2 separate regions of the Homo sapiens genome follow, and region 1 is linked to region 2. The links are contacts of gene promoters, found by promoter capture Hi-C in blood cells and fetal thymus (Javierre and others, 2016). All regions are on one chromosome and are shown on one strand. The core of a region is centred on a gene start or on the middle of the fragment in contact, and the rest is flanking DNA. Distances in the headings are between cores, read along the strand shown. Region 1 overlaps FLNB (filamin B). Region 2 holds the start of FLNB (filamin B).

Region 1 (3,787 bases), core at 1,255-3,754, 81 kb after region 2:
AGCCGGAGATTAAATGAGACTTAAGAGACTTAGCAACCATTTGTAATATGTGACCTTATTTGGATCCTATTCAAACTAATGGTTAAAAAAATTCATGATAGCTGGGCATGGTGGCTCACGCCTGTAATCCCAGTACTTTGGGAGGCTGAGGTGGGTGGATCACGAGGTCAGGAGATCGAGACCATCCTGGCCAACGTGGTGAAACCCCCTTTACCAAAAATACAAAAATTAGCTGGGCATGGCGGCATGTGCCTGTAGTCCCAGCTACTTGGGAGGCTGAGGCAGGAAAATCGCTTGAACCTGGGAGGTGGAGGTTGCAGTGAACCGAGATGGCGCCACTGCACTCCAGGCTGGCGACAGAGCTAGACTCTGTCTCAAACAAACAAACAAACAAATAAAAATTCATGATAAAGCAGCAGCTCAAGGTGCTGTAAGAAATTCATGATATTTATAAGATAATTGAAAATTTGAACACTGAATATTTGACATTAAGGAATTATTTTTTTTTATATGGTATCGATATTGTGGGTACTTTGCAAGTATCTTTTAAGGATACATAGTGATTGTGGATAAAAAATCTGAGGTCTAGGATTTGTGTCAAAATAATACAGGAAGGGGAGGTGGCGGGAGTGAAGGTGAAACAAGACCAGCTGTGAGTTGATAGTTGTTGAAGCTGGGTACAGGAGGTCCACTGTGCAGTGCTCTCTACATCTGTGTTTGTAATTCTTTTTTTTTTTTGAGACGGAGTCTCACTCTGTCGCCCAGGCTGGAGTGCAGTGGCATGATCTCGGCCCACTGCAACCTCTGCTGCCCGGGTTCAAGCGTTCTCCTGCCTCAGCCTGCCAAGTAGCTGGGATTACAGGCGCCCACCACCACACCCGGCTAATTTTGTAGTTTTAGTAGAGATGGGGTTTCACCATCTTGGCCAGGCTGGTCTTGAACTCCTGACCTCGTGATCCACCTGCCTCGGCCTCCCGAAGTGTTGGGATTACAGGTGTGAGCCACTGCGCCCAGCCTTTTTTTTGAGACAGAGTTTCGCTCTTGTTGCCCAGGCTGGAGTGCAATGGCACGATCTCGGCTCACTGCAACCTCTGCCTCCTGGATTCAAGTAATTCTCCTGCCTCAGCCTCCCAAGTAGCTGGGATTACAGGCATGCACCACCACACCCCGCCAATTTTGTATTTTTAGTAGAGACAAGGTTACACCATGTTGGTCAGGCTGGTCTTGAACTGCTGACCTTGGGTGATCTGCCCACCTTGGCCTCGAAAGTGCTGAGATTACAGGTGTGAACCACGGCGCCCAGCCTTTTTTTTTTTTTTTTTTTTTTGCTGAAGTTTCACTTCTGTTTCACAGGTTGGAGTGCAATGGTATGATCTTGGCTCGCTGCAACCCCCGCCTCTGCCTCCTGGGTTCAAGGGATTCTCCTGCCTCAGCCTCCCGAGTAGCTGAGATTATAGGCATCTACCATCACACCTGGCTAATTTTTGTATTTTTAGTAGAGACGGAGTTTCACCATGTTGGCCAGGCTGGTCTCGAACTCCTGACCTCAGGTAATCCACCTGCCTTGGCCTCCCAAATTGCTGGAATTACAGGTGTGAGCCACTGTGTCCAGCCTAGTTTGGAATTCTTCATAATAAAAAGCTTTTTAAAAAGGTAATATTTGGACTTCTGCTCCTGGGAAGATGGAATAGGACTTTTCCTAATTCTTTCTTCTAACTACAACTAAAACCCCTGGGCTATACATAAGGAAAACACAGGGAGCCTCTGAAAAAGGATGAGGCAGACCAACCAGGGATCTTGGGACTCGAGGAATGACACAGTACTGAGTTCCTTGGGTTTACTTTGCTTTATATATCCCAGACTTGGAGCCAAAGAAAGAAGCTGACAACCTGAAAATGCCAGTGGGCACAAACACAGAAAGTGCCAACAAAAGCTCCCCTGTCCAGCCAGAAGACCAGGAAAGGGCAGCCCAGTGAGGCAGAAAACTTAAAGAGTCACTGCTCTACTCCAGGTCCACACCATAGAAAAAACTATGCAGCCCCACACTTACACCCGCAGAGGTGAATGGGGAGCCTAGGCTTTGACAACAGTCTAGCAATAAGGAAGCCACTCTCCGGGGCCATGGAGGAGCAGTAATGAGGCACTCCTACTTCCTCCAGCCAGAACTCCCACCTTCACGCACCAGTAATGAGCCCCCCAATCTTGAGCATCAGTCGAGGTTGAATGGAGAGCCTAGACTTCTTCCCCCACTGTTAGTAACAAGGTGTGTACCCTTCCCTCCCCTGCCACAGTGGTATCATAAAATGCCAGCTACAACAGAACATTTACAGAAGACCCAGAGTCTCATTACATGATACCCCAAATATCCAGTTTCAAAAAAAAAAAGAAATCACTTGTCATACCAAGAACCAGGAAGATCTCAAACTGAATGAAAAAGACAGTTGATGCCAACACTGAGGTGATAGAGATGTTAGAATCCTATGACAAAAATTTTAAAGCAGCCATTAAAAAAGGCTTCAGTAGCCAGGCGTGGTGGCTCACTTTGGGAGGCTTGTAATCCCAGGACTTTGGGAGGCCGAGGCGGGCAGATCACCTGAGGTCAGGAATTCGATACCAGCCTGACCAACCTTATGAAACCCAGTCTCTACTAAAAATACAAAAAATTAGCCAGGTGAGGTGGTGGGCACCTGTAATCCCAGCTACTCGGGAGGCTGAGGCAGGAGAATCGCTTGAAACTGGGAGGTGGAGGTTGCAGTGAGCTGAGGTCATGCCGTTGCCCTCCAGCCTGGGCAAGAAGAGTGAGACTCCATCTCAAAAAAAAAAAAAAAGGCTTCGGTAGGCAGTTAAGAACAATCATGAAAAAAATGAAAAAATTAAAAATCTCAACAAAGAAATACAATGTCCCAGCAAAATAATAATAAAAATTTAGGAGATAAAAAGAACCAAATGGACATTTTAGAATTGGAAATTGCAGTAACTGAAATAAAAACTTATTGGATAAGCGCAATAGCAGGGTGGAAGGACAGAGAAAAGAATCCTTCAACTGGACAACAATTGGTTGTTTTGTTCTGAGGTGGAGTTTTGCTCTTGTCACCCAGGCTAGAGTACAGTGGAGTGATCTTGGCTTACTGCAACCTCTGCCTCCTGGGTTCAAGCTATTCTCCTGCCTCAGCCTCCCTAGTAGCTGGGCTTACAGGTGCCCACCACCACTTCTGGCTAATTTTTTTATTTTTAGTAGAGACGTAGTTTCACCCTGTTGGCCTGGCTGGTCTTGAACTCCTGACCTTAGGTGATCCACCTCGGTAATCCACCTTAGGTGATCCAAAGTGCTGGGATTACAGGTGTGAGCCACTGGACCCGGCCTCTGTAAGCTTTTTTCTGTGTTTAAAACTTTTCATTTTTGTACTTTTAAAACTTTTTTTTTTTTTTAAACACACACATTAGTCTAGACTTACACAGGGTCAGGATCATCATTATCACTATCTTCCACCTCCAAATCCTGTCCCACTGTCCCACTGGTAGGTCGTCAAGAGCAGTAATGTGTGGAACCGCCGTCTCCTATAATAACAATGCCTTCTTCTAGAATATTTCCTGAAGGACTTGCTTGAGGCTGCTTTACAGTTAACTTAATTTTTAAATAGAAGATGCCCACTCTAAAATATAATGATAAAAAGTATAGCATATTAAATACATAAACCAGTAGCATTGTCATTTATCATCAAGTATTATGTATTGAACATAATTGTCTGTGCTATATATGTTTCTATGGCCGGTAGCCCAGTGGGTT
Region 2 (3,867 bases), core at 1,329-3,828:
AGGGCCGGGTAATATATTCTCTCCCCCAGGCTGTTGTGACCATTTCCAGTGAGTCAGTTCATCTGTCTGAACAAAGCACTCTGGCATTGATTGTATGCAAATAACCTGTTACAGAATGGTTCTACCCATAAACTGGCTGGCCTCTTTTGAGCAACCCTCAAAGTTGCAAGCCCTTGCCCTCTGTCCTGGTCAACCTCTCTTCCTCAGAAGCTTGCCTGCTCTGAACTCCTCTCCCAAACCGGGTTAGGAGCCCCTTCTCTGGTATCAGGGCACCCTGTGCCTCTCTTACAGACTTGCATTATGGTTCTAACTGTGCTGTGTGGCCTGGGCAAGCCGCTCAACCACTCGGTTATTTCTTCTTTTTTTTTTTTTGAGACAGAGTTTCACTGTTATTGCCCAGGCTGGAGTGCAATCTTGGCTCACCACAACCTCTGCCTCCTGGGTTCAAGCGATTCTCCTGCCTCAGCCTCCCAAGTAGCTGGGATTACAGGCATGCGCCACCACGCCCAGCTAATTTTTTGTATTTTTAGTAGAGCTAGGGTTTTTTCATGTTGGTCAGGCTGGTCTCGAACTCCTGACCTCAGGTGATCTGCCCACCTTGGCCTCCCAAGGTGCTGGGATTACAGGTGTGAGCCACTGCACCCGACTTGAAAGAAATTGCTTTGCACTGTGCTTGGCACAGAGGAACAGCAGGTGTTCATTCAATGCTTGCTGTTGTAATTATTCAGGCTTTTATCAACAGAGGGCTGGCCTGAGACTCTGCCATATCTCAGAACCTAGCACAGAACCTGGATGAGTACAGAGTAAGTGCTCAATGTATGCTGTGGTAGGCAGAGTAATAGCCCCCAAAGACGTTCACATCCTAACTCTCAGGACCTGTGAACATTCCCTTAAATGGCAAAGGGGAATTAAGGTTGCAAACAGGATTAGGGTTCTTAATCGGCTGATTTTAAAATAGGGAGATCATGTTGGACTAACCAGCTGGCCCAATGTCATCTTAAGAGTCCTTAAAAGGGCCAGGTGTGGGGAGGTTGAAGCTGCAGGGAGCCGAGATTGAGTCATAGCACTCCAGTTTGGGAGACGGAGTGAGACAAAAAAAAGGCTGGGCAAGGTGGCTCATGCCTGTAATCCCATCACTTTGGGAGGCAGAGGCTGGTGGATCGCTTGAGGTCAGGAGTTCAAGACCAGCCTGGCCAACATGGTGAAAGCCCGTCTCTATTAAAAATACAAAAATTAGCGGAGCGTGGTGGCGGGTGCCTGTAATCCCAGCCACTCAGGAGGTTGAGGCAAGAGAATTGCTTGAACCCAGGAGGAGGAGGTTGCAGTGAGCCGAGATTGCACCACTGGACTCTAGCCTGGGCAACGGAGTAAGACTCCATCGCAGGAAAAAAAAAAAAAAGGAAGATGTGCCTATGGAGAGAGGACTGTCTGAGGTCTGAGAGACTCCACCTGACATTGCAGGCTTGCTTTTCTGTTTTTTTTTTTTTTTTTTTTTTTTTTGAGACGGAGTTTTGCTCTGTCGCCCAGGCTGGAGTGCAATGGCACCATCTCAGCTCACTGTAACCTCTGCCTCCCAGGTTCAAGCGATTCTCCTATCTCAGCCTTCCCAGTAGCTGGGATTACAGGTACGCGCCACCACACCTGGCTAATTTTTGTATTTTAAGTAGAGATGGGGTTTTACCATGTTGGCCAGGCTGGTCTCGAACTCCTGACCTCAGGTGATCCACCCACCTTGGCCTCCCAAAGTGCTGGGATTACAGGTGTGAGCCATTGTGCCCAGCCCATTGCAGGCTTTCACAGAGAAAAGGGGCAGGAGTCAGGCGCGCAGGCAGCTTCTGGAAGTTAGAAAACACAAGGAAACAGATTCTTCCCTACAGCCTCCAGAAGGGAATGCATCCTGCCAACACTTTGTTTTTAGCTCAGCAAGACCTGTGTGGGCCATCGAACCTACAGAACTGAAGGATAATACATTTGTGGGTGTGTGTTTTCAAAGACACTAAGTTTTGGTAACTTGTTACAGCAGTAACTGGAAACTAAGACATGCAACAAGCCTTATTGTTCATTTTTACCACCACTACTGGGCTGTTGGTTATGGTGGAATTACACTTTTCTCTTCCATTAGGCTGTGTGAACTCCTTGAGGTTGTGCAATACGTTTGTCTGATTTACTACTGGTTAGCAGGCTCTGAGAAGAATGGCTGGTACACAGGCGGAGCTCAATAAAAGCCCTTACTGAATTTTATTCAATCTATATGTGGATGAAGACCTCCGCCCCGCGCGCCCCTCCCGCAAGTCCCACTGAGGCCCGACCCATTCTGTCCGGCTCCCAGCCCCCGCGGGTCCCCCCACCCCGGGGCTGACCGGGTGATTCAGGCAGCCCTACATCCTGCTGGGGTGGTGGGCTTCGAGCGCGGGTCCCAGGACGCAGTGGGGCGCAGTGCCTGCGGCAGGCGGCAGGAGGCGAGCGTGGCCCAGGAACTCCCGCGGGAGGGTCGGGACGGGGCGGGGCTTGGGGGCGGGGCGGCTCAGCGCGCAGGCGCGGGGCCAGGCGCCTCGCGCGGCCAGGGGCGGGCGGCCGCAGAGCAGCACCGGCCGTGGCTCCGGTAGCAGCAAGTTCGAACCCCGCTCCCGCTCCGCTTCGGTTCTCGCTCCTTCGGCCCTTGGGCCTCCAAACACCAGTCCCCGGCAGCTCGTTGCGCATTGCGCTCTCCCCGCCACCAGGATGCCGGTAACCGAGAAGGATCTAGCTGAGGACGCGCCTTGGAAGAAGATCCAGCAGAACACGTTCACACGCTGGTGCAACGAGCACCTCAAGTGCGTGAACAAACGCATCGGCAACCTGCAGACCGACCTGAGCGACGGGCTGCGGCTCATCGCGCTGCTCGAGGTGCTCAGCCAGAAGCGCATGTACCGCAAGTACCATCAGCGGCCCACCTTTCGCCAGATGCAGCTCGAGAATGTGTCCGTGGCGCTCGAGTTCCTGGACCGTGAGAGCATCAAGCTCGTGTCCATCGGTGAGTTCTCTGGCCGGGCCCAGGCGCCCACTGTGGTGCCGACCCGCCCCCGCGCGTGCACCCCTGCGGAGGGCGAGGATTTCCCGCAGCGCGCCCCCACCTCGGAGATAAGGGGGAGTCGTCCCCAGGGGTGGGTTATAGGGGGCCTAGACCCCCTCCCCGGTGTCTTCCCCTGGGATGGGACCTGTTGTGATCGCTCCCCGCCATCCGCCCCAGCAGTGCACCTTTGGCTGGCTAAGGGTTGAGGGTTTGGGCTGGGGTCACAGGAGGAGAGGTGGAGTTGTTGCATTTCTCTACACCTGGGGCGCCCCTATGGGAGCTAGGGGACTAGAAACCCTCGTTCGCTGTCCCCGGGGGCGGGCCCTAGGGTCAGATGCTCCGCGGAGTGCTCTCCCTGCTGCGCCCAGGTTGGTGCTCTCAGAGGCAGCTGAATGGGCGTTGGCTCGGAGGCCGGGCCGTGAGACCTGAGGAGGAACCGTTCTCTGCGCCTGGGGCCTCCCTGCCCAGGTGGAGACAGAGACCTGGTACCTTCCCCTGCCGTCGCTGGAATGGGTGTGGGCCCCGAGGTTGCAAGGGTAGGCGCGGGTGTGTGTCCTCGCTCTCTCTGCTCCCAGCTCAGCTCTGGCCGCGCGCCGCAGGTTGAACCCACTCCTTGCTGCCGAAGTTATAATTTAGAGATGGTGGTGGTAACAGTAATTGCTGTCTTGTAGGGAGCCCAACTAGCGTCCACTGTGTACCGTCAGCCTTCTAAGTTATCTCCGTCCCTACGCATCCTGCCATCTGGGGTGAGGCTAGACCCATTTTACAGATAAGGGGGTCCGGAGGGTTAATTGACCTGTCCAAGGTCAGCAAGT

Evidence for each region. Contacts are between HindIII fragments. The CHiCAGO score rates a contact against its expected background, and 5 or more counts as called.
Region 1: a fragment that was not itself captured here is called in contact with the fragment with the promoter of FLNB in region 2 in 1 of 17 cell types (endothelial precursors); the score reaches 7.5 in endothelial precursors.

Annotation. Positions count from the first base shown.
Region 1 is chr3:58,086,734-58,090,520 of GRCh38, forward strand. The region is part of intron 4 of FLNB (filamin B); the gene reads left to right. Among named protein-coding and RNA genes, the nearest start is that of FLNB, 80 kb to the left of the region's middle. The HindIII fragment of the contact is 1,730 bases long and covers 1,640-3,369 here.
Region 2 is chr3:58,005,844-58,009,710 of GRCh38, forward strand. It overlaps FLNB (filamin B), which reads left to right and starts at 2,579. Exons shown (of 46, transcript NM_001457.4): 1 at 2,579-3,013. The coding sequence starts at 2,722. The HindIII fragment of the contact is 11,042 bases long and covers 209-3,867 here.